Linked DNA regions of Homo sapiens: all the other regions are linked to region 5. Evidence: promoter capture Hi-C in 16 types of primary human blood cells and fetal thymus (Javierre and others, 2016). All regions are on one chromosome and are shown on one strand. Each heading gives the region's core, a stretch centred on a gene start or on the middle of the fragment in contact. The rest is flanking DNA. Distances are from core to core; before and after follow the strand shown.

Region 1 (3,349 bases), core at 621-3,120, 460 kb after region 5:
AAGTAAAACTGGAAACTTTACAAATTGTGAAAATAAAACAGCAAACTCTTAAGCAACCAATGGATCAAAGAAAAACCATAAGGCACATAAGGAAATAGTTAAAGATGAATTAAAACACAACATACCAAAACTTAATAGGACTTAGTGAAAGCAGTACTAATGGAGAAATTTATAAATACTTACATTAAAAAAACAAGAAAGATCCTAAGTCAACAATTTAACTTTACACCTTAAGGAACTAGAAAAAGAGAACAAACTAAGCCCAGAGCTAGCAGAAGTAAGAAATAATAAAAAGTAGAACATAGATAAATGAAATAAATAATAGAAAAAATAGAATCACTAAAGCCAAAAGGTGGTTCTTTGAAAAGATGAATAGAGTCGACAAGCCTTTAACTAGCTAGACTAAGAAAAAGAGTTAAGAGGACTCAAATTACTAAAATTAGAAATAAAAGTGCAGATGTTACTACTGATTCTACAGCACAATAAATGATTCTAGGAGAGTTCTATGAACAATTGCTTGTCAAAAAATTGGATAACCTAGATGAAATGGACAAATTTTTAGAAACATAAAACCTGTAAAACTAAATCATCAAGAAATAAAATACCTGAATAAACTTCTATAGCGAGTAAGAAGATTGAATTAATATAAGTTCAGTAATCAAAAACTGTTATAAATGATAAATGAATTCAGCAAAATAGCAGGACAAAAAGTTAACATGCAAAAACTAGGTGCATTAATATACACTAACATAACTAATATGAAAAGGAAATTATAAAATAATTCAATTTACAATCATTTCAGAAAGAATAAAATATTTAGGGATTAATCTAACCAAGTAGGTGAAAGACGTGTACAATGAAAACTAGAAAACATTGGTAAAAGAAATTGTTGACATAAAAAAATGAAAACATCCCATGACCATAGATTGGAAGGCTTAATAGTGTTAAGATATCAATACTACCCAAAGAAATCTATAGATTCAATACAGTAATAAATTCCCAATAATGTTTATTTGTAAAAATAGAAAAACTCATCTTAACATGTATATGAAATTTCAAAGGAAACTGGGTAGCCAAAATAGTCTTGAAAAAAAGAACAAAGCTGGAGAACTCACACTTTCTGATTTCAGAACTTACTGCAAAGCTATGGTAATCAACACAGTATGGTGTAGGTACAAATACAGACTAGTGAAATGGAGAGCCCACAAATAAACCCTCACATATATTGTCAAATGATTTTTGACATGACTGTCAAGAGCATCCACTGGGTAAAGGACAGTTTTCAATAAATGGTGCTGAGAAAACTGGATATTAACAAGCAAAGGAATAAAGTTGGAACTTTATATAACAACATATACAAAAATTAAATGGATCAAAAACATAAATATAAGACTAAAAGAAATAAAACTGTTAGAAGAAAACATAGAGCACAGGCTTTACAGCATTGGATTTGGCAATGATTTCTTGGATATGAGACCAAAGGCACAGGCAACAAAAGAAAAAATACACAAATTAAACTTCCTAAAAAAATAATTTGTGCCTCGAAAGACACTATCAACAGAGTAAAAAGAAAACCCACAGAATGAAAGAAAATATTTGTAAATCATACATCTAAAGAATTAATATCCAGAATATGTAGAGAACTCCTAACATTCAATAACAACAACAACAATAACAAAATGCAAAAATGGGCAAAGTACTTGGGTACACATCTCTCCGAAGAAGATATGCACATGGCCTATAAGCACATAAAAAGATGCTCAAAATCACTAATCATTAGGGAAATGCAAATCAAAACTGCATTGAGATACCACCTCACACAGACTACAATGGCTACTATAAAAAATAGTAAAAATAAGTGTTGATGAGGATGTGGAGAAATTCGTACACTTGTGTAGTGCTGGTTGGAATGGAAAATAGTGTAGTTGCTGTGAAAAACAGTATAGTGAGTGGTTCTTCAAAAAATTATGAATAGAATTACCATATGATCCAGCATCTTCACTTCTGTGTATATACCTAAAAGAATTGAAAGCAGGGTCTTGAAAATACATTTGCATATCCATATTCATAGTAGCATAACTCACAATTGCAAAAATGTGGAAACAACCCTAGTGTCCTTCAGTGGATGAAAGAGTAAACAAATGTGGTATATCCATACAATGAAATGTTATTCAGCCTTTAAAAAAGTAACTTCTGCAATCTGCCATAATATGAATGAACCTTGAGGACATTATGGCAGTGAAATAAGCAAGTCACAAAAAAGCAAATATTGTATGAGTCCACTTATATGAATTACCTGGAGTTGTCAAAATCATAGACATAGAAAGTAGAATAGTGATTGTCAGGGATGAGGAAGAGGGAGAAATGGAGACTTATTATTTGATAGGTATAGAGTTTCAGTTTTACAAGATGAAAAGTGTTGTGGAGTTGGATGGTGGTGATGGCTATACAACGATATGGATGTATTTAATATCACTGAACTGTACACTTACGAGTGATTAAGATGGTAAATTTTATATTATGTATATTTTACCACAATATAAAAAATTAGAGAAAAAAAGAAATGGTGGGGAACAAAACTAAAAGAGGGCTTAAAATTAAATAAAGGAATATGATATGTATCTCTTCACAAAAAAGAGAAGCAAATATAAGATAATTTCCATAATAATATTATTCTTCATTGGTTGCTTTCCTATCTAGCTTGTTGGATAAAAAGGAATGAACAGGAGCTCACCAGCCATCAGAGAATTGCAGCTAACCCTAGGTAAGCCTATTGGAACAAATCCTATGGTCAAAGATATATTTCTCATATAATGAGAAACAAAACTACAGTTGAACAGTTGTGTTAGAAATAATCCATGTAGCACTTTGAAATGTGTCCATTTATATTTGGTTTATATGACGCACCAGCCTCTACACAGTATTACAAATATACTGCTTATCAACGTCAAAGTGACTAGAATGACTAGAACACTGCCTCCATAGAAACTTTCTTTTTTTTATTATTATTATACTTTAAGTTTTAGGGTACATGTGCATGGACACAGGAAGGGGAACATCATAGAAACTTGCTGTCGTACCTCATTACAGTACAGATTATCTACCTTTACTTTCCTATAATTCCCTAGAGCACACCTCTCTCATTTTCCCTGTATTTTCTAAATTTATGGAATACATACAGCTTGGAAATCTTTATGATTATCAGTCTATTGTTCTAACTTTTAATTATCTGAATCATAATATATGGGTTCTCTAATATATATTTTTATATTATACTGTATATATAATATTAGTAGCAGCAGCCAGCTTGCTTGCTTGTATCCTTCCTCCTTCCTTTTTTCTTTCCTTC
Region 2 (3,445 bases), core at 716-3,215, 430 kb before region 5:
TAATGGTATCCGTTCATCTAACAGAGGGTTGGCATTCATACCTAGGAGTTGAAAGTACATCAAATGCTCCTTGATGAGCTAAGCAAAGTGAAAATGTACGTGCTATTCCCCTAACAAGGAAAGCCGCTGAAGTTTAAATAACAGAAAAGAGCACATGGATAGAGAAAAAGTTAATGCAGAACATTTTGTTGCTTTATTATTCAGTGACAGAGATTAGCCAGTGGGGAATATATATATACATGTGTATATTTACCCATATAAATAAATATAGATTTTAAACTAACAGTCACAAAGGATATCATACATTTCAAATTTGCATACAAATAGTACTTCCTAAAATTGGCAATTTGATTTACTCATCTTCTGAATATCTTCTGCAGGTGTAGTAATAATTTTCAGTATGTCTGGATGCCTAGAATATGTTTAGCAGTGTCCTAAGTATTTTAAGTGGATCCTCTCATTTAATTTCGACAACAATCTCTATGCAGTAGATACTACTGTTATTGAAAATTTACAAATTCAAAAGATGGGGCAACTGAGGCTTTAAGGAATTAAGTAACTTATCTGTCATCGTCATTGCTCCTCATTGCCCCAAAGTAGAGAGAACATCTCAATTCAACAAATCATATTGATTCCACCTTCTAAATATCTCAGGGGTCCACCTTCCTCTCTCCAACCCACTGCTGCAACTCTGGTTCCGGCTGCTGTCAACTGAGTTAATGTAAAGTCTCTGGTAGTCTGACTACTGGAGTTTAATAACCCAAGTGGTTGACTAGTGTTTACAAATAAGCTCATATTAGTTTTGATTACTAACCTCCTGCTGTCACAATAGTCCTAACACCATAATCAGTGTCTCTCAGGTACTTCCGGGTCTTCCTCGAGGGAGTCTTGCACGTGTTGAGGAATGAGTCTGTGCTCAGTTGAGAGCCACCAATACCAGCTGTGGTCTGCCACACCCACCACCCCTGCCCACACTTGGGGTTGCTGCTTCACAGTTCTCAAAACTTTACAATCCTCAGAGTGCAAAGTGACTCTTCATTCCTTTTAGCCCTCAATGACTTTTTTGTCACAAATGAGAGGAACGCTGTCTTCCAAACTGTTTCATTTTGCCACAAAAGAACAGCACTTGTGCTATAAATCTCATATGACACAGTTCTTTCTACTTCTTCCTGAAGGCCTTTTCTCTTGGAGCTCAAATAGCCATTCACCAGGCTCAACAGAGAACACACTTTGTTCGGGGCTGTCCATTCCCTGTCTTTTCCCATCTCTTCTCTCATTTCTCACCATACTTCTTTTTTTTTTTTTTTCCTTCGGGAAAACAGTCAACCAAACAAAGATAAATCAAACTCATATCAATCAATGCAAATGCCCAGTGGATGTAGTGGGCCAGTGTGCAGGATGAAGGATGTGTAGTAAACCCCTTAGTAGTGCACTGGTCATGGCTCATCAGGTTTGCCCATAGCCAGTCTTTGAATTCCAATTTAAATAAATAGGGGTACTTTAAGTCTTCCTTAAATTTAAATATAATCACATTTTTTCATTCTTTAATATACATCAGCGACTTCTCATTGTTTTCTGATTAAGTTAAAATCCCTAAAGATGTTGACAAATTTTTCATTAACTGCTTTCAGTTTTTTCTCTTTCATCAGCGGCAACAACCTTCTCTACCAACCTTGCTTCAAACTCCATGTTCTAGAGAAGGGATGGGCTCTAGCATGTGGGACTATTGCATGATAAACAAACAGCAGTGCATAGAGCTATTGTAGAATGCCATAGTCACTTATTCTGCAAGTTTACAATAATTCCTGTTTCAGTGTCAATTTATAAATAGCTACTAATAACTAAAAGCATGATTTTAAATCTGCAGGTATAAGCAATAACAAGCTTAGTTAACATCTAAGAATGATGAGAACTGTTTTAGCCTTTACTCAAGTTGTGAACAAATATTATGATGATGACTCTGCTGAAGAACCAAGCAGAGGATAAACAATGCCAGTAAATCCTAGGTATTGCAGGTTCATTGACATGTTATAAATCAAATAAAGTTAAGCTTGCCAATAATTGAATATAACCACTTTAACATATTATTTATATTGCTTATTGAGCCTACAAGTATAATTTTGAATAGCAATGTTTGATACTTTACAAATTATAATAGCATGTGCATAAATGTGCATAATAATATTATTTTATGTCTTTCAAGGAGATGAAATAACTTTTATATGCAAGAGTTTATTCATGTAAGCCAGGAACTATTTTAGTGAGATTTACTTTGTTTCTATTGATTCTATTTAGAGCTGAATCTGTAGCACTAAAACCAAATAATACCAGACAAGGTCTTAAACCAAATTGTTAAGCCTTGTCTAATCATATTATATTATCCATTTGTTCTTTGTTCCGTTTGATGAGCATAGTTAAAATCAGGTAACTGAAGTTAACATAACTTGACGCAAAAGCAATGCAAGTTGTATAGCAGAACAGAAAAGTCTATTTTGTGGGCAGTGACCACTAAAAATAATTGTGAGAAATGAGTGTCATAAAAAAAAAATTTGACTGTTGATAGATGTGACAATTTATGACAACTAATGAGACCACTTAGCAGAATCTGCATACCTTTGGTTGCTATAGGCCAAATTATTAAACAGTGTTGTTAGGATAATAGTTTGGTGATGAGCATTGCAGATGAGTTGATAAAAATTATTGACCCATGAGACTAAATACAGGGACTATCTCAAAAACCAATTGTTAGAAGATATGTAAGAACAGAGACACAAAATAATTAAGTACGTGAGGTAACATATATGTTAATTAGATTGATTTAGCTATTCCGCAATGTATACACAGATCAAACATCATGTTTAACACCATGAATATATACCACTCTTATTTATCAATTACAATTAATTTTTCAAAAGAATGGAGCCATCACAACAGATTTAGAAAGATTTGTCTTGTCATCCTCATAAGGATGTAGGGCATTTATGCAAGAAGATTTATTAATATAAAAATATTAGTAAATTATAATAAAAATATATGTAAGAAAAATCAACATGTGCATAATTCTGCATAAGGAGCTAAATGATCATGGAGGCTGAGAAGCACCATAGTAGATGGTTAATGAAGTGGTTAAAGACTGTTAAACAATATCTAGTTGTGACTAGTCATAACTGATGACTGTGGCATTGGTGATGGATATCAGAAAGAAGGCAGAAGTTTGGCTCAATAACACCTTGTTATAACGTATTTTGGTAATAGAGTCAATTTGAGTTTTAAAAAATAAGTCGTTGATAACAATGATATATTAATGATCAATTTCCTTATCCTATTTGGAGAAATACCTGATACTATGAACGTTTAAATAACAATGCTAATTAGATTAGTCTTTTTTGCAGATAAACCACTTATTCTGGAAGAAAAAGTGCTTATCAAATACACTGTCATTTCT
Region 3 (3,415 bases), core at 770-3,269, 460 kb before region 5:
TCTTCAACAGCTTGGGAACTTTATTTCCTACCCCAAGAGACAGTTGGTTTATGAAGTAACCCCCTACACACAATATATATACACATATATTTATATGTATATGTATATTTATGAGTGAACTTTTTTCTTTGCACACTTTTCCTAATGGTGTCATGGAAAACTCCCCTCCACCTAAGTTATGTTCTAAAGCCAATCTTCTAGTTTTTTATCACATCATTTCTCTTGATTTTAAACATTTGAAATTTGAAGGAAAATGGTTTCTTCTGTAACATGATCCTCTCTATTCAGTTTTATGTGGTTTTCTTTTCCTTGTTACTTTTCCTCCTCAAGGTCCTCCCACTTTTTTGTTGTTAAATAAAATTCGTCTGAATCTCTCTTTGAAGATAATTTATGGAGAGAAACTGTCCTCCACCCTCACTGTGGCTTACCACAACCTCTAGAAAGGTTAGTTGGAGTACACTGAAATAAAAAAAGACTGTCAAACAGCAGTTCTCTAGCTATGGAATCTACTGGTGTTTTGCTGGAAAGCTCATAAAATGAAGTGTCATTATGCACTGTGCTATACCATCCATTGTGTGTTCTAACTATATCACTCCCTTTTCCACTTACCCATGGGAAGCAGCTTACCCAACCAGTCTGGCCTATGTGATGGAGAAGCAAAGATCTGAAGAGCCAGTTTTTTTTTTGTTCTTGGCCAGCTATACAATTTCTAGGTGTTCTATGCCTCAGTTTCCTCATTTGTTAATTGAAAGTGTTAATCCTGATCTTCATCGAAAGACTATGGTTTGCTCACCCATGCTGACATGTAAAGATGACATATAGCCACAGCTTTCTTGACAGTTATCAGGAAGACAGACCAATATTGAATGACCATCTTAGTTTTAAAAATTATTTTTCTTTTATGTTCATATAATTTCCTTTAAAATTCTAACTAGTAGAAAAAAGATTTGTTCAGTGTTTAAGAAAATGTCAAGTGAATGCTGATTTACTATTTTTGAACTAGAATTGGCAAATAGATTTCCTCCTAAGGGGGGTGGGGTGAGATGGAAGAAACATTCTATGCGACAGAGTTTTTGATATTCCTCAGGAATGAAAATAACCTAACTAAATTAGTCATAAAATATATGCAGAAATAGCGTGTGCCAGTATTTAAAGTTTAAACACTATTAAAAATAGTGTAGAATGGCAAAATTTTATTGTTGGTAGGAATGTTAGATAATGACAACAATAACAACAATGAAAGGTAGTAGGGATTGAAAGCTAATTAATTGCCAAACACCATACCCAGTAATTTATGTTTATCATTTAATCACCATTTCATATTTACCAAAGAAAAAATGAAGACTTCAGTGTGGTAAAGCAGAAGTCATACATCTGAACTATGATAGAGCTCAGATTCCATCCCTGATCCATATCCAGAAAGGTTGAGAGGCTGGCTTGGAGTCTCAGTCAATTTGTGGTGATACAGTAACAGACACTCAGGTCTGACTCATAAACTATTCAATGTAACTTCAAAATACAGTACTTTCAACATCAAATCAGAAAAGCCATTTGCTACTATGCTAACTTTTCAACCAAGTCTTCTTTACTCCCTCCAATTATTTTCATGGTAATGTTCCAGCACTTGTAGAAAGCAAAGGCAAAGATGGAATGTGAAAAACTCCTATCAGTCAGGAAGTCACTGTATGGATGGCTTCACAGTTGTGGCCCTGCTTTTTTCCTTCATACTAAACACATGTCTTAGCATTTTTAATTCTTCTATTCATCTCTAGTTCATAAAGCTTACATCTTGTGGTCATGGCTTGGAAGACTACAAATGTCATTTATGAAATCCCCAACTCTTCCATTCTTATATTACATACTTGATGTGGAATTTGCCTTATGTATTAATGTTTTAAAGTCTAAATATATATTCATTCCCTTCACCTCTTAGAATATCTAGAGAAACACGAATTTAGATATATAGCCTGGCATAAATTCTTCACAAATGGCTGAAGTCTCTTTAACCTACCTGGTGGATTCTGAAATTTTAACTCTGTCAACATTTATACAAAACTTTTTCCTCTTCTCCGTACATAGTTATAGTAAAACACTATGTTTAAAAGAATGGTTGGAATCCTCTCACCTTCATATGTAAAAATCCTCATAAAATAATTCAACTAATCTAACATAAACCTTCATTTCTTTAATTGCTTATCACACATCAGAATGTGCAAGGCATTATTTTAAATATTGGACATGGTCCCGCCTGGCTCCAATAAGCTTATAACCTGATAAGAAGAGGGTAAATTATACATATATAAAATTATTAGATAAAAGATGTTAGGTACTACATGATAGGAACAGATACAGTATGCTTTGAGAGTTCATATTTTTATAATTGTTTAAAGTCTGAATTTTCCAAGTACCATGTGCTTTACATAAATATAAATAGTTAATAAACATTTATGCTTTCTAATCCTATCAAAATTCTTAGTGTAGCTTCTTAATGTTATTTCTGTATATACACATTTCCTAGGGCAACACATTTTCCAGCATAGGCAATAAGCTGTTCAATATGTAACATAAGCTAGTAAATAGTACAACCGATTTAAGTAGGTACCATTTAAATAAATCTTCTACTCAATGCACTGGCCATGCCAGATCCCTTTATGTGTATTTGCTTGCAAAACCACAAACTAGTTTACTCTTCTTGAAATAACAGATATTCAAAGGTGTATGATATAATTTACAACAATATTTTTATGTTATAATTGATACTATCATAGAACCCTCATTGATGGGAAATAAATGTCTATATTGGGATAAATAACATCTATACTTTTCAAAAGTCCTTCAGTGAATTTTGCATTCTTTTATTTTTCACATCTCCGGGTATAGTAGTAGATGCAGGACATCATTATTTTGGCAATATTCAGGTATCTTTGATATTCACTATGGAATAAATTATTTCAACATATCGAGAACAGATCCAAGGAGGTGACCTCAAAGACCTGAAGGTTAATTAATGGACTAGGCTATCCTGACTCAAAATGAATAGGAATTCAGAAAGGGAAGAAGAGGGAAAGCTGTGTATTTCTGCAGGGATTCATGACTAGTTAGATGGACATATTTTATTATGTTTTTTCACAAGGGAAACATTTTTCTTCATTGTATATTGAGGTGTGGTCTCTTATAATAAAGATTGTTTTAGTCTTTACCCAATAAATTTTCCACAGTATCTGGTATAAACTCTGGCTAGATAACTTTTTACTTTATAGAATTTTTCCCTAATGTAATGTGTGAAGGAGTGAGGTAGCTATCAGATTTCCATTTATAAGCTAACTGAAAACATGGAAACTCCACAAACAGCCCATATAACCTGAAAATTGAGCAAAATGACTATATATACACACACACACTTATATATGAGCTA
Region 4 (3,601 bases), core at 178-2,677, 440 kb after region 5:
TAAAATGACACAGAACACCATATAAAAGATTTGGGGGTTGGAGAGGCAGAAGCAAGGGATATTCCTAAAGTTATATTTCATATAGTCATATCTTGTTCTTGATCTGTCCTTTTTGCATCCAAATATTTACTCCTCTCTACCCACTCTCTAATAACTGATGTCTCTGGTGGTTGTGCAATAACACAAGGAATGGATGATGCAAAAGGAGGTAGCTGATAGACCTGATAAATGCAGCTATCGCATAACCATCTGGTCTCGTGACTCTAAGGGGGGTCCCTTTCCAAACACACAGTTAGCTGAAGGAAATAGTCAACTTCTTTCCTCCTTCATCCAATACCTTGTATAAAGAAACCTATCCTTATAGATCATAAAGTTTAAGAAATACTAACTTTTTTACTACCCACCACTCTGTCTTTTAGCTGTACTACACTATACCATCTCTATCAAGTGGCAATAACTCCTGTTTTAAAGCATTGCTTATCCTGCTAAAGTTACTCCTTCCAATAATAACAACATGTATTACAGGAAGTTTTTCATTCTACAAATATTTTATATTATGCCTGTTATGGGATGCTAACCATTCATTGTTATTCAATAAATACACAGTAATTGCCAGGAATATCATTTGAGAATTTCAGATAGTGGTTTGTGTGGTTTTTGAAAAAGTCAGTTTAAATCCAGAGTTTTACTTATTATGTTTCTTTTTCTATAATTTATAAAGGGGTACTGCAGAAATTCTAACCACTCTGACAAGATAATTTTGTGTTTTGTTATTTGTATCGTGACACATTGGGAAGAGTTTTACTGATTTTAGCATAATTTGGTTCATTAATAAAGTTTTCAAATTTTATTTATAATGGTACAAATAAACATCTTTTAATATACTGTAGGTGATTTCATTGAAATGTACTAAACAGTAGAAATGACAGTGAGTTTTGGTGATAAAAGTCCACCAATACAAAATGATATTGTAAGGGCTTTCTATACCTTAGTTTTCTTATCTACAAGATGTACAAAAGGCTTTTTAATCAAACCCCTGAAGTTATACCAACCAAGGAGATGGAAGTAATAACATTATACAAGCACAACGGATGAAGCAAGTCCCAGCAGAATACTTACAGTGTATCTTAAGTTCAGAATAAGTGAAATGAAATATGTGGACATGTATATTGGTAAAAATGTTAAGTATTATGAATAATAAATGAAATTTAGAAAGCTATTGCTTATCAGGAAGATAGAATGTGGAAGTACATTTTGGTAAACATTGGTAATTATTACTATGCTCTGCTTCTTGAGTTGAACAGGAGGTTTGTAGCTATTCATTATAGTATTAAATAAATGTAAAAGTAAATCAATAAAATAGTCATACATGGGACAATAATGATGATGAGTTTTGAGTTAAGCATATGATTGTGGAAGGCAGAATTCTAAGATGGCCCCAATATCCCCACCCCTCTGTTATACACATTTTCTTTCATTTATTGAATTAAATAGTAATCTAGGTGGGTCTGTAAAGGGATTTTACAGATATAATGAAAGTCTCACATAAATTGAGTTTATGAGAGAAAGATTATCCTGGACCGGCCCTATCTAATCAGGTGAACCCTTAAAATAAGTCAGAAGGATTAAAAGAGACAGAGATATTCCCTTGTTGGCCTTGAAAGAGCAACCACCATGTCGTTAATAGACTGTGGTTGAGGGATGTGGCAAGGAACTTAGGATGACCTCTAGGGGCTGAGTGTGGTCCCAGGCCAATAGCCACCAAGAAGAAGGGAACCTCAGTCCTGCAACTGCAGAAAACTTCTTCCAACAACCTGAGTAAACCTGACAGAGTACCCCAAATTCCAGATGAGACTCCAGCCATATGGATACCTTGTTTTTAGCTTTGTAAGATGCTAGGAAAGGGTCCATGTACACTGTGCCTGGCGTTTTGACTATAGATGCTGTGAAATAGTAAATGAGATGAGACCAGAACTATAAAGTCCAGACTCATTAGAGGACAAATTTCAGACCAAAAGCAATTTGATGTAGTAATAATGATAAATAACATTCTATTTTGTCTTATTATTATGTTTAGATTATTTTCTTTCTATTATTAAGGGTGTATCTCTAAATGAAATGATTTGCCCACTTTTTTCAGGAGTTAGATATGTTTTTCTTTGCAACAAAACAATGTCATTGCGAGTACAGCCAGACAAAAGTACGCTTCTGAGAAAGGCGTTTAAAGGAACTGCATATCTAGATTTGTCATAACTCAGCACCAGCACCTTGACTCTCATAATCAGGGAGGTTCTATGCTGTCTGGGAACCTATATGCAGCAATTGATAGCAGTTTTTAAATTTAGGACTTGAAGAAATTGACAAGTGGGTATGTTGAAAGTGATTCCCCATATTCAGTTTACTTTGTATTTAAATCACAGTAAGTTATTTTTTAAAAAGGATAATGTTGTATCAGTTCTAATTTCTCCAGCATGGAATTGGTAGGAAGGCTTAGCCAAATTGGGCAGGGAAGTAGTTCATTTCTGTGCCTCCCTTGGTTCTTATCTAAACCTGCCTACTGATAGATATTAGGCTTCCTGCTTCAGGGCCCTAAGTGTTAGGTTTTCTTTATGTAATTAATCTGTCTCAAAGAACTGAGATTTTATAAACTGATTTCTATTGAAGCCTTCAAATATATGCTTTGAAAACTGCTAGCTGTTAATGTGTGATTATGCATCTATTCTTTCTGTGAAATCGGTGTTTTTCTATACCCTGCACTAGCATTAATGTTTATAGAAATATGATTCCTATTTTTAGTATGATTTTTCTTCCACTTTTTTTCTTCTAAGAAAGAAGTTATGAGAGGAGCTTGTTAGACATATTGGGAGGAAGAATTGCTTTCTCCTTGCCACCCAGGTTAGAAGGAGATAGCTACTGTGGAGAGGTAGCAGGCACAGATCCCCTGAAGTTCCTGTAGAAAACTTTACTATTTGTTCCATCGTTAGTAACTGACAGGAACACTATGGCTACCATATTTGCTGGATTTTTTCTTAAAAGACAATCTCACAAATTTCTCCTTTGTTTCGTTCTTATGCCATTTGAAGTAAAAGCAATTATACGTAATACTGGAATTTTAAATAATGATTGAGACTACTGAACAACAGGGCTGACAGAGTAGATACAAGCTTTAACTTTTATCACAAACTTTTGATTACATACAGTACTCCTTAGGTGACTTGGCCTTTTTTTTAGTTTGTTTAACATTTCCAGCGTCTGAGTATAAAACCACCAATGATTTTTAAGAGGAATACTAAAAATCCTAAAATTAGAAAATATGTAGTTGAATACTTACTTGCTCATATAATTTCATATCAGCTTTCAGGATCTGTAAAGAGACACAACTGTTTTACAGTTCGATTGGAACTGGGGAGGAGTTTAAAAGAATCACAGTAAGCCCTCTGGTCTTTTCCAGGAGGATAATCAACAACATTGACTGATTATGTTTGTATGGGTAAGTATGTCTGTTTATAGATAATGTTAGTTCTCCTCCAATGAATGTCTTCTATGTAAATAGACATGAAATTCATACTGTTTGAAGCTGTCTGTTGGTTTAGACTATTCT
Region 5 (3,583 bases), core at 504-3,003:
CATGGACCCGCTTCAACCTCATCTGCATGGCAGGCGTTTTGCAAGGCGTCAGAAGGCATCTCCTCTTTGGACTTTTTGTCTCCCCTGGTAGTCTCTAGAAGCCATTAGAGTGAAAGCTATCTTTCCTACCTACAGCTAAAAATGTAAAAGTGAGCGCGCTCAGGCGGCCCTGCTCCTAGAAAGATCCAGGCCCCTTCATACCCCAACCCCTGGCCGGGGACAGTTGGTAGCGGTGGCTGGTGGCGAAGCTGCAGGGCGCCCAAGGCCCCCTGCGGCCCAGGAGTGACCCGAGTGCACTCGCCCCTTACTCTGGCCTGGGGCCTGAAGAAGGCACTGGAACACGGAAGCTGATGCTGCACTTTAGATGCAAAGCGTAGATTTGCACTCTGGCTAAGGCACTGAATGAACACCACTGTGGCCCTGGGACAAGGAGCTGTGGTCCGTCTGGGATCAACTAGGTGGCGAAGGGGAGGGAGAAAGGAAGAGAGAGGGCTTGCGCGCGGGAGAGAGGAAGGGACGGGAGGGAGAGGGAATGGAAGACAGGAAGGGTGTCCCTTCTCAGAGGTCGCACTTTGTCAGCAGTTCCTCTCGACTGCTCTGCCTTCCATTTTTCCTTTCCTCAGTTCCTGGACAAGCCTCGGAGGACCAGGCAGAACCCTCTGGCTAGCAGAAAAGCTCGCACCCCCGCACCCTTGCGGCGTCTGCTTCAGACCCTCCACGCAGGCGCCCGCTGGAGCGCCTGCTGGGGATGGCGTACCACCGACCCTTCAGGCTTTTTAAAAACGTAAGAATTTCTACTTTATTATCTCTATGAAAAAAAAAATGTAAAGAAGAGAGGTTAGATTTTATAGAAGCTCCAAAGTCTGCCATTTGCGAGGAGGGTTCACTTCCCACCCACCCAGCCCACGGAAGCTCTTAGGAGCAGCCTGAACGGCCCCGACTCAGCCTCACGCTCTCTGACTTCCCCGCTCGCCCCTGACCCCGACTTCACTTAGGGCGGTCGCGTAGATATGAACTCTACAGCAGCCACTCTGCTCAGCGCATGTGGGGATCTTACAATCTCGACCCCGACCTCCAGAAGACCAGACGTTCTGTCTTGGGGCCTCCCTCCCGGCCCTTTAGCCTCACCCAGTGCCCGGTCCTGACACACCCCAGCACTACCAGACGAGGAAGGGCAGACTCTCCACACCAGGCTCAGCCGCTTTCCTTCTTCTCACAGCTCTCCAAGAGCTCGGTCATGAAGGAGATATAGACGATGGCCAGGCGGAGGGTCTCGATCCGGGACAGCCTTTTCTCGTAAGCAAACGTGGGCACCTTCCTCCGCAGCTGGTCAAAGGCCTCGTTGAGGTTGAACATCCGCTTCCTTTCGCGGATGTTGGCGGCCTGGCGCTGGGCGTAGGTGATCACCCTTTTCCTCTTGGGGCGGCCTAATAGGGAGACACCTCTTCCGCGCTCCTCTTCCTCCTCCTCTTCTCCGTCCCCCTGGTCCACTTCGCACTCCTCTTCTTCTGGGTCCCCCTCTTCAAACCGCGCCATCCTCCTGGGTCTTCCCTCTCGGAGCGCAAGGGCTGGGTCCCCCAAGGAGACCCCGGGTGCGAAGTCGCAGAGGAGAGGGCGTCTCGGGGAGGCCAGGGACAGGTCTGCGACGAAGTCCAGCACCGTAGTGTCCACGCAGCTCTCCGGATAGGCCGCCATCGCTTCGGCTTGGCCCTGCCTCTCATCGGTTTTCCGCAGGGAGGGGCGAGGTTGCTGGTGGGGATTCTTAACAGCCTTGAATCTGATGGGGCACCATCACCGAAAGGCCAGGGAACATTAAATATTTATAACCAAGCTGATAACAGGATTAGTCGCACCGATAAGGAATGCTCTGACAACGTCCCTTCTCTCGAAGCTTATGGAAGATGACAAGCTTGAGCACGCATGGAAGACTCAAAGGGACAGGGCTCCAGTTCTGAGATCCTTTTCTCTGCGCCACCCGGGACAGTTCCTTGTTGGCAACAACCCCCAGCTCTTACCTGCTGTGCTTTTTGTGTCTGTCTTCACCCCTGCAGCCAACTAATGTTCTCCAGGCTCCTTATCTCGTGTAGTTCTTTAATTTCGTGTTGGATTTTCAAAGCGAGGATGTTTTCCACCGCGATGGCTTCTCCTTGACTTCAGGGTAGGAGTCTTGAATCTTGCCACCATCTGCCAATGGATGTGGAGCAAGTGCATGTGCTTTTAATGATGTCCTGAAGAGGGGCCCTGCCTGCCTGGCATCAAGGGGAGCTGTTTGTCTGGTATCCCAGTGCAGCGGCTGCTGAAAGGCAAGACCTTCAATTAGCTTAAGTAAGCATGGCAGGGGGACCGAGAGTGCATTCCCCAGAGTCGCTGTTGGAACCGGCTTTCTTTTCTTTCCAGGGCATCGCAAACAGCTCTCCTGCCACGTTACAAACCCTGACTTCTAAAGTCTGTTTGGATGCAATCAGCGTAACAATTGAGATACTTGACTTTCCTTTCCCTACCTTTACCTCCTACTCATATAAAATAGAGGATTTTATTCCAAGAGGAAAAGTTATGATGGCAATAAAATGAGAAATTTAAGCTCAGGATATTTTCTATGCTCGGGCTTTGCTGTATACTTTTCAGTGTGGGGGACAAAGCAAACTCTCCTCACAAACAAAACCACTTCAAGCTCTTTTCAGAAATGCGATTTGCCCTTGATAAGCCAAAGAGTCAATCAGCTCACCCTCTGCTGAGGAGTCTTCGGACTTTTAAATTGCGGATCGAGTATTTGTTCCCGAACAAAGAAAAAAACCTAACACTTCCATCTGGCGTATTTTCCTCATTGATTTGTATTGTCCTACAGTAAGACTTAAGTGCAGAAACAATGATTTATTGAAATATATTTAAGGGAGTTTTTGGCTATCGTTAGATCGTTATTTTTGAGAAAAGAAAGAGATTTTAAATTTGGCATAAGAAAAATAAGAGATTACTCATTTTATATTATCTCGAGTATCCCAAATATTTTAACAAAAAGGTTCTTTTTCTTTGTTTGCCAATAACTATATTTACTTAATTATTCAGTACTGTGTAAAGATTTATTTAAAAGACCCATTGTGTCAAAGTGACAGATTAGAAGATAATTTTAAAGGTAGATTGGAAGAAATAGCCTAAAAAGATGAATGTAGAAACATCCCGGTTCAAAAGAGAACTGCCCAGGACGTCAGTCCCTATTAAGGGGGTAAGTTGTGGTTATGATGGTTCACTCAGTACATTGGACAGCTCCCAGAAACCAGAAACCGCCTATTTCTAACAGGTAATCTCAATTCATTTTCTTCTTCCTAGCCTCTATGTGTGTAATCAAAACAGTATAACCTTTAATTCTTCTTCTTCTTTTAACCCATTTGTGTCTGGTGTCTCTCGATCTTTTAATAGATTTTATCTTCTTTTGCTTGTGTTTACTCTTCATTCTCCAGTTTGAATTGTGATAACTCAGGCAGAGAATAATTGAAATTTGTGATCCTGGAAGATGTTAAAGAGAATGAGATCTTTGGTTGTTACTTAGTTGATTTTTGCTAAGCATCTTTCAAAGGGAAGGCTGAAA
Region 6 (3,411 bases), core at 587-3,086, 510 kb after region 5:
GACACCCCAACAGCTTTTGAGAATTGGGCGATGACCACTCTAGCTATTTCCTGCTGGATAGGGGTGAAGAAGGGGCCCTGCAGTGGTAGTGTCCTCCAGAGGAGAACTCTGTAGGCCAGCCAAAGGGTCAGTGGGTCAGTCCAGGGGTCCTCGGTAGAAGTTGTTAGTTGAGCTCATTTGGGGTTCCATTTGTAAGACCATTTGTAACTTGATGGCATCAATCCTGGAGGAAACAAGTTTGACAAGGAGGTTAAAAATACAGGGCCCAAAGGCGAGTAATAGCAAGATGGCTGTCAGGGGACCTAGAAAGGGGAGAAGCCATGTCGCCCAACTACAGAGGTTGGTATAAGAGTTTGAAAGGCATTGTCTTATTTCAGAAGCCTTTTCCTGTAAACGCTGGGTGGCACCTCGTACTATCCTTGACTGGTTAGTGTAAAAACAACACTGTTCCCCTAAGAAGGCACAAAGTGCTCCTTTCTCAGTAGTGAGGAGGTCTAGGCCTTAGTGGTTTTGGTAGCAAACTTACTTTTGTTGAAAACCTTTGAAGTTTGGGATTTCAATTATTCTTTGCTATTAATAAGACCTCGTTCAGTCCATATTAACTTAGAATTGGTATAGATGGCTCCTTCCTGATTCTGTACATACTTTCAGGTTTGGCTGAGTGCGAACAGCTCACACATTTGAGCAGACCAATTATTAGGCATTTTTCTTAACTGCTTCTACAAGAGTTTCCTTATCACTTACTGAATATCCCCTGTGTCTTTTTCCCTTAATCGCCCGGGAGGAAACATCTATTGTCCTGTCCTGAAGAGAGTTCCTCCTAGGTCTAGTTGGACCTTTGTATGGTAATTAATTAAGATTTAGATCCCCTGTTAGGAAACTTCCTGGGTTAAGGATTTTTAGTAGGAAGGCTATGGGTTGTGAGTGACCTCAGTGCTTTCGGGCTACGCCCCTGTTTACACTGACAAGGTGGTATTGGGGTGTTATAGGGTTATGGATAAGACCTTCAATTATCAATTATAGGTTTTAAATTTACCCTGTCTTTTAAAGGAATAGGGTACACAGTTTTTTCTTTATACTTTTATCTCTCTCTCTCTCTTTCCTTCTCTCTTTGCCTTTCTGTCTGTCTCTCTTTCTGTCTCTCTGTCTCTTCCTCTCTCTCTGACTCCTTCTTTGTCTCTCTGTCTCTTCCTCTCTCTCTCTTTCCTGCTCTCTTTGACTGTCTTTTCCCTCCTCCCCACCACCTCTTTCTTTCTCTTTGACTTTCTGTCTGTCTCTTTCCTCTCTGCTGGTCTTTCCCTGCCTCTCCTTCCCATTTTTGATGGCTTCGGCATTGCAAGACTGCCACTTCCTTGGGTTTTTGTGCTGCTTGCAATAACTCCATGATTTCCTTGTGGTATTTAATGGGGATTCCCCTAGAGGTTAGGAACTCCCTTTCTTTCCATATTGCAGTATGGTCATGTAGGATTAGATAAGCATACTTGCTATCTGTATACACATTTATTCTTTTTCCCTTTCCCAGTCCTAAGGCTCGGGTAAGTGCCACTCGTTCTGCTAACTGGGTGATGGTCCCTGGGGAAGATGCTTACTTTCAAGTACTGTTACATCACTAACTATGGCATAACCTGCCTTTCATATCCCATTCTCCACAAATAAACTTCCATCGGCATACAGGTTAAGGTCAGGATTAGCTAAGGGGACTTCTAAGAGATTCTCTCAGTGGGCATAAGTCTGGACTATAATTTGTTGGCAGTCATGCTCGATTCATTCTCAATCCTCTGGGAGAAAAGTGGCAGGGTTGAGGGCCACACATGTGTATTAGAAGCACCAGTCCCTCAAGGAGTAGTGCCTGGTATCTGAGCAGGCAGTTGTCTGATAGCCGTAAACTTCCTTTGGCACCTAGAATGCCATTTACATCATGAATAGTTCAGACTGTGAGATCCTTTCCTTGTATTATTTTGATAGCCTCGGATACTAAGATAGCCACTGCCGCAACTACCTGTAAACAGTGAGGCCAACCTTTTGCTGCTACATCAGTTTCCTTACTTAGGTATGCCACTGGTTGTGGGGTTGTCCCATGAGTCTGAGTAAGGACTCCAAGAGCTATTCCCACTCTCTTTGTGATGTATAAAGAGAAGTTTTGTCCTGTGGGAAGGCTTAAGTCTGGAGCTTGTACTAGAGCCTGCTTTTAGGTTTTGAAGGCTGTTTTGCCTGTGGTTCCCATTCTACTAGATGAGTATTTGCCCTCTGGGTCTCCCTGATTAGAGTATAAAGGGGCCTAGCTATCTCGCTGTATCCGGGGATCTATAGTTGGCAAAGGCCAGTGATTCCAAGGAACCCCCAAAACTGTTTTAATGTCTTAGGGCAATGATAAGACAGTATAGGCTGTATTCATTCCGTGCTGAGGGCCCTGGTTCCTCTGGCTAAGATTAGGCCTAGATATGTGACTTATTATAGGCAGAGTTGGGCCTTCAATTTAGACACCTTGCACCCTTGATTAGCTAGAAAGTTTAAGAGATCTAGAGTAGCCTGCTGGCATGAGGCTTCCGAACTGGTAGCCAAAAGTAAATCATCCATATACTGAACAACCAGAGTGCCTGGACTTGAGAAGTGAACTAGATCTTGGGCCTGTGCCTGACCAAACAGATGAGGGCTATCCCTAAACCCCTGGGGCAAGACCATCCATGTAAGTTGGGAGTTGTGGTCTGTGGGATCCTCAAAGGCAAAGAGAAACTGGGAGTCAGAGTGCAGGGGAATACAGAAGAAGGCATCCTTGAGGTCCAGAACAGTGAACGATTCTGCTTCCTCTGGTATTTGAGAGAGCAGGGTATAGGGGTTGGGTACAACTGGATATAGAGGAATTACTGCCTCATTGATGAGTCTAAAATCTTGCGCTAGTCTCCACTGACTGTTCAGTTTTTGTACTCCTAGAATTTGTTGCTGGGACTGCTGCATTTTCTTATTAAGCCTTGAGCTTTTAAATGTCTAACAATATCCTGTAATCCTTTATGAGCTTCAGACTTTAAGGGATATTGCCTTTGATAAGGAAAAGTGGTGGGGTCTTTTAACCTGATTTGGACTGGGCAGGCATTTTTTGCCCTTCTGAATTGCCCTTCTGAATTGTCCTTCCAATGCCCAGACTTCAGGGTTGATTCCCTCCTTAAGCAGGGAACAACAAATGGGTAACTTATTCCCCATATTCACGTAGACAATAGCTTCAGCTTTGGCTAATATGTCCCTCCCTAATAAGGGTGTGGGACTTTCAGGCATAACAAGAAAGGAATGTGAAAAAAGCAAAGTCTCCCAATTTCAACTGAGGAGGTGGGAGAAATACCTGGTCACAGGCTGTCCCAGGATTCCTCGGATGGTAACGGACTTTGAGGATAGCTGTCTGAGACAGGAGATTAACAC
Region 7 (3,370 bases), core at 625-3,124, 490 kb after region 5:
AGAGAAATGGGAACCCTCATACACTGTTGTTAGTAAGGTAAATTAGTACAACCACTATGGAGAACAGTTTGGAGGTTTCTCAAAAAACTAAAAATAGGGCTTTCATACAATCTAGAAATCCTACTGCTCAGTGTATACCCAAAAAAAAAGGAAATCAGTATATCAAAGAAATATCTACACTCCATGTTTGTTGCAGCTTTGTTCACAATAGCTAAGATTTGGAAACAACCTAAGTGCCCATCAAAAGATGAATGCATAAGGAGTATATGGTACTTATACAAAGTGGAGTACTATTCAGCCATAAAAAAGACGATGATTCTGGCCCCGTGTGGTGCCTTATGCCTGTAATCCCAGCACTTTGGGAGGCTGAGGTGGGTGGATCACCTGAGGTCAGGAGTTTGTGACAAGCCTGGGCAACATGGCTAAACCTTGTCTCTAGCAAAAATACAAAAATTACCTGGGCATTATGGGATGTGCCTGTAATCCCAGCTACTCGGGATTTTAGTTATTTCTTGCCTTCTGCTAGCTTTTGAATGTGTTTGTTCTTGCTTTTCTAGTTCTTTTAATTGTGATGTTAGGGTGTCAATTTCGGATCTTTCCTGCTTTCTTTTGTGGGCATTTAGTGCTATAAATTTCCCTCTATACACTGCTTTGAATGTGTCCCAGAGATTCTGGTATGTTGTGTCTTTGTTCTTGTTGGTTTCGGTTTGCCAGTATTTTATTGAGGATTTTTGCATCAATGTTCATCAAGGATATTGGTCTAAAATTCTCTTTTTTGGTTGTGTCTCTGCCAGGCTTTGGTATCAGGATGATGCTGGCCTCATAAAATGAGTTAGGGAGGATTCCCTCTTTTTCTATTGATTGGAATATTTTCAGAAGGAATGGTACCAGTTCCTCCTTATACCTCTGGTAGAATTCGGCTGTGAATCCATCTGGTCCTGGACTCTTTTTGGTTGGTAAGCTATTGATTTTTGCCACAATTTCAGAGCCTGTTATTGGTCTATTCAGAGATTCAACTTCATCCTGGTTTAGTCTTGGGAGGGTGTATGTGTCAAGGAATTTATCCATTTCTTCTAGATTTTCTAGTTTATTTGCGTAGAGGTGTTTGTAGTATTCTCTGATGGTAGTTTGTATTTCTGTGGGATCGGTGGTGATATCCCCTTTATCATTTTTTATTGCATCTATTTGATTCTTCTCTATTTTCTTCTTTATTAGTTTTGCTAGCAGTCTGTCAGTTTTGTTGATCCTTTCAAAAAACCAGCTCCTGGATTCATTAATTTTTTGAAGGGTTTCTTTGTGTCTCTATTTCCTTCAGTTCTGCTCTGATGTTAGTTATTTCTTGAAAACAGGCACAAGACAGGGATGCCCTCTCTCACCACTCCTATTCAACATAGTGTTGGAATTTCTGGCCAGGGCAATTAGGCAGGAGAAGGAAATAAAGGGTATTCAATTAGGAAAAGAGGAAGTCAAATTGTCCCTGTTTGCAGATGACATGATTGTATATCTAGAAAACCCCATTCTCTCAGCCCAAAATCTCCTTAAGCTGATAAGCAACTTCAGCAAAGTCTCAGGATACAAAATCAATGTACAAAACTCACAAGCATTCTTATACACCAATAACAGACAAACAGACAGCCAAATCATAAGTGAACTCCCATTCGCAATTGCTTCAAAGAGAATAAAATACCTAGGAATCCAACTTACAAGGGACGTAAAGAACCTCTTCAAGGAGAATTACAAACCACAGCTCAGTGAAATAAAAGAGGATACAAAGAAATGGAAGAACATTCCATGCTTATGGGTAGAAAGAATCTATATCGTGAAAACGGCCATACAGGCCAAGGTAATTTATAGATTCAATGCCATCCCCATCAAGATACCAATGACTTTCTTCACAGAATTGGAAAAAACTACTTTAAATTTCATACGGAACCAAAAAAGAGCCCGCATCACCAAGTCAATACTAAGCCAAAAGAAGAAAGCTGGAGGCATCACACTACCTGACTTCAAACTATACTACAAGGCTACAGTAACCAAAACAGCATGGTACTGGTACCAAAACAGAGATATAGATCAATGGAACAGAACAGAGCCCTCAGAAATAACGCCGCATATCTACAACTATCTGATCTTTGACAAACCTGAGAAAAACAAGCAATGGGGAAAGGATTCCCTATTTAATAAATGCTACTGGGAAAACTGGCTAGCCATATGTAGAAAGCTGAAACTGGATCCCTTCCTTACACCTTATACAAAAATTAATTCAAGATGGATTAAAGAATTAAACGTTAGACCTAAAACCATAAAAACCCTAGAAGAAAACCTAGGCATTACCTTTCAGGACATAGGCATGGGCAAGGACTTCATGTCTAAAACAACAAAAGCAATGGCAACCAAAGCCAAAATTGACAAATGGGATCTAATTAAACTAAAGAGCTTCTGCACAGCAAAAGAAACTACCATCAGAGTGAACAGGCAACCTACAAAATGGGAGAAAATTTTCGCAACCTACTCATCTGACAAAGGGCTAATATCCAGAATCTACAATGAACTCAAACAAATTTACAAGAAAAAAACAAACAACCCCATCAAAAAGTGGGCGAAGGACATGAACAGACACTTCTCAAAAGAAGACATTTATGCAGCCAAAAAACACATGAAAAAATGTTCACCATCACTGGCCATCAGAGAAATGCAAACCAAAACCACAATGAGATACCGTCTCACACCAGTTAGAATGGCAATCATTAAAAAGTCAGGAAACAACAGGTGCTGGAGAGGATGTGGAGAAATAGGAACACTTTTACACTGTTGGTGGGACTGTAAACTAGTTCAACCATTGTGGAAGTCAGTGTGGCGATTCCTCAGGGATCTAGAACTAGAAATACCATTTGACCCAGCCATCCCATTACTGGGTATATACCCAAAGGACTATAAATCATGCTGCTATAAAGACACATGCACACTTATGTTTATTGTGGCATTATTCACAATAGCAAAGACTTGGAACCAACCCAAATGTCCAACAATGATAGACTGTATTAAGAAAATGTGGCACGTATACACCATGGAATACTATGCAGCCATAAAAAATGATGAGTTCATGTCCTTTGTAGGGACATGGATGAAATTGGAAATCATCATTCTCAGTAAACTATCGCAAGAACAAAAAACCAAACACTGCATATTCTCACTCATAGGTGGAATTGAACAATGAGAATACATGGACACAGGAAGGGGAACATCACACTCTGGGGACTGTTGTGGGGTGGGGGGAGTGGGGAGGGATAGCATTAGGAGATATACCTAATGCTAAATGACGAGTTAATGGGTGCAGCACACCAGCATGGCACATGTATACATGTGTAAC

What was found. The method cuts DNA at HindIII sites, captures the fragments that hold promoters and counts their contacts. A CHiCAGO score of 5 or more calls a contact.
Region 1: a contact is called between a fragment that was not itself captured here and the fragment with the promoter of FERD3L in region 5, in 2 of 17 cell types (M2 macrophages and M0 macrophages). The highest score is 5.6, in M2 macrophages.
Region 2: a contact is called between a fragment that was not itself captured here and the fragment with the promoter of FERD3L in region 5, in 1 of 17 cell types (M1 macrophages). The highest score is 5.4, in M1 macrophages.
Region 3: a contact is called between a fragment that was not itself captured here and the fragment with the promoter of FERD3L in region 5, in 1 of 17 cell types (M1 macrophages). The highest score is 5.4, in M1 macrophages.
Region 4: a contact is called between a fragment that was not itself captured here and the fragment with the promoter of FERD3L in region 5, in 1 of 17 cell types (M1 macrophages). The highest score is 6.5, in M1 macrophages.
Region 6: a contact is called between a fragment that was not itself captured here and the fragment with the promoter of FERD3L in region 5, in 3 of 17 cell types (M0 macrophages, M1 macrophages and megakaryocytes). The highest score is 6.6, in M0 macrophages.
Region 7: a contact is called between a fragment that was not itself captured here and the fragment with the promoter of FERD3L in region 5, in 2 of 17 cell types (megakaryocytes and M0 macrophages). The highest score is 6.3, in megakaryocytes.

Annotation. Positions count from the first base shown.
Region 1 is chr7:19,606,559-19,609,907 of GRCh38, forward strand. It overlaps LOC105375180 (a long non-coding RNA gene), which reads left to right. Exons shown (of 5, transcript XR_007060245.1): 4 at 2,701-2,764. Among named protein-coding and RNA genes, the nearest start is that of MIR3146, 97 kb to the right of the region's middle. The HindIII fragment of the contact is 5,642 bases long and covers 1-3,349 here.
Region 2 is chr7:18,710,641-18,714,085 of GRCh38, forward strand. The region is part of intron 12 of HDAC9 (histone deacetylase 9); the gene reads left to right. Among named protein-coding and RNA genes, the nearest start is that of HDAC9-AS1, 190 kb to the right of the region's middle. The HindIII fragment of the contact is 166 bases long and covers 1,883-2,048 here.
Region 3 is chr7:18,684,686-18,688,100 of GRCh38, forward strand. All of the region lies in intron 12 of HDAC9 (histone deacetylase 9), which reads left to right. Among named protein-coding and RNA genes, the nearest start is that of HDAC9, 190 kb to the left of the region's middle. The HindIII fragment of the contact is 481 bases long and covers 1,780-2,260 here.
Region 4 is chr7:19,585,781-19,589,381 of GRCh38, forward strand. It overlaps LOC105375180 (a long non-coding RNA gene), which reads left to right. Exons shown (of 5, transcript XR_007060245.1): 3 at 3,355-3,490. Among named protein-coding and RNA genes, the nearest start is that of MIR3146, 120 kb to the right of the region's middle. The HindIII fragment of the contact is 3,470 bases long and covers 1-3,162 here.
Region 5 is chr7:19,143,668-19,147,250 of GRCh38, forward strand. FERD3L (Fer3 like bHLH transcription factor) reads right to left here and starts at 1,754. Exons shown (of 1, transcript NM_152898.2): 1 at 1,115-1,754. The coding sequence starts at 1,695. The coding sequence ends at 1,195. RefSeq lists enhancers at 487-1,686, 2,152-2,800. The HindIII fragment of the contact is 4,985 bases long and covers 1-1,889 here.
Region 6 is chr7:19,654,344-19,657,754 of GRCh38, forward strand. All of the region lies in intron 4 of LOC105375180 (a long non-coding RNA gene), which reads left to right. Among named protein-coding and RNA genes, the nearest start is that of MIR3146, 49 kb to the right of the region's middle. The HindIII fragment of the contact is 5,700 bases long and covers 1-3,411 here.
Region 7 is chr7:19,634,285-19,637,654 of GRCh38, forward strand. All of the region lies in intron 4 of LOC105375180 (a long non-coding RNA gene), which reads left to right. Among named protein-coding and RNA genes, the nearest start is that of MIR3146, 69 kb to the right of the region's middle. The HindIII fragment of the contact is 4,454 bases long and covers 1-3,370 here.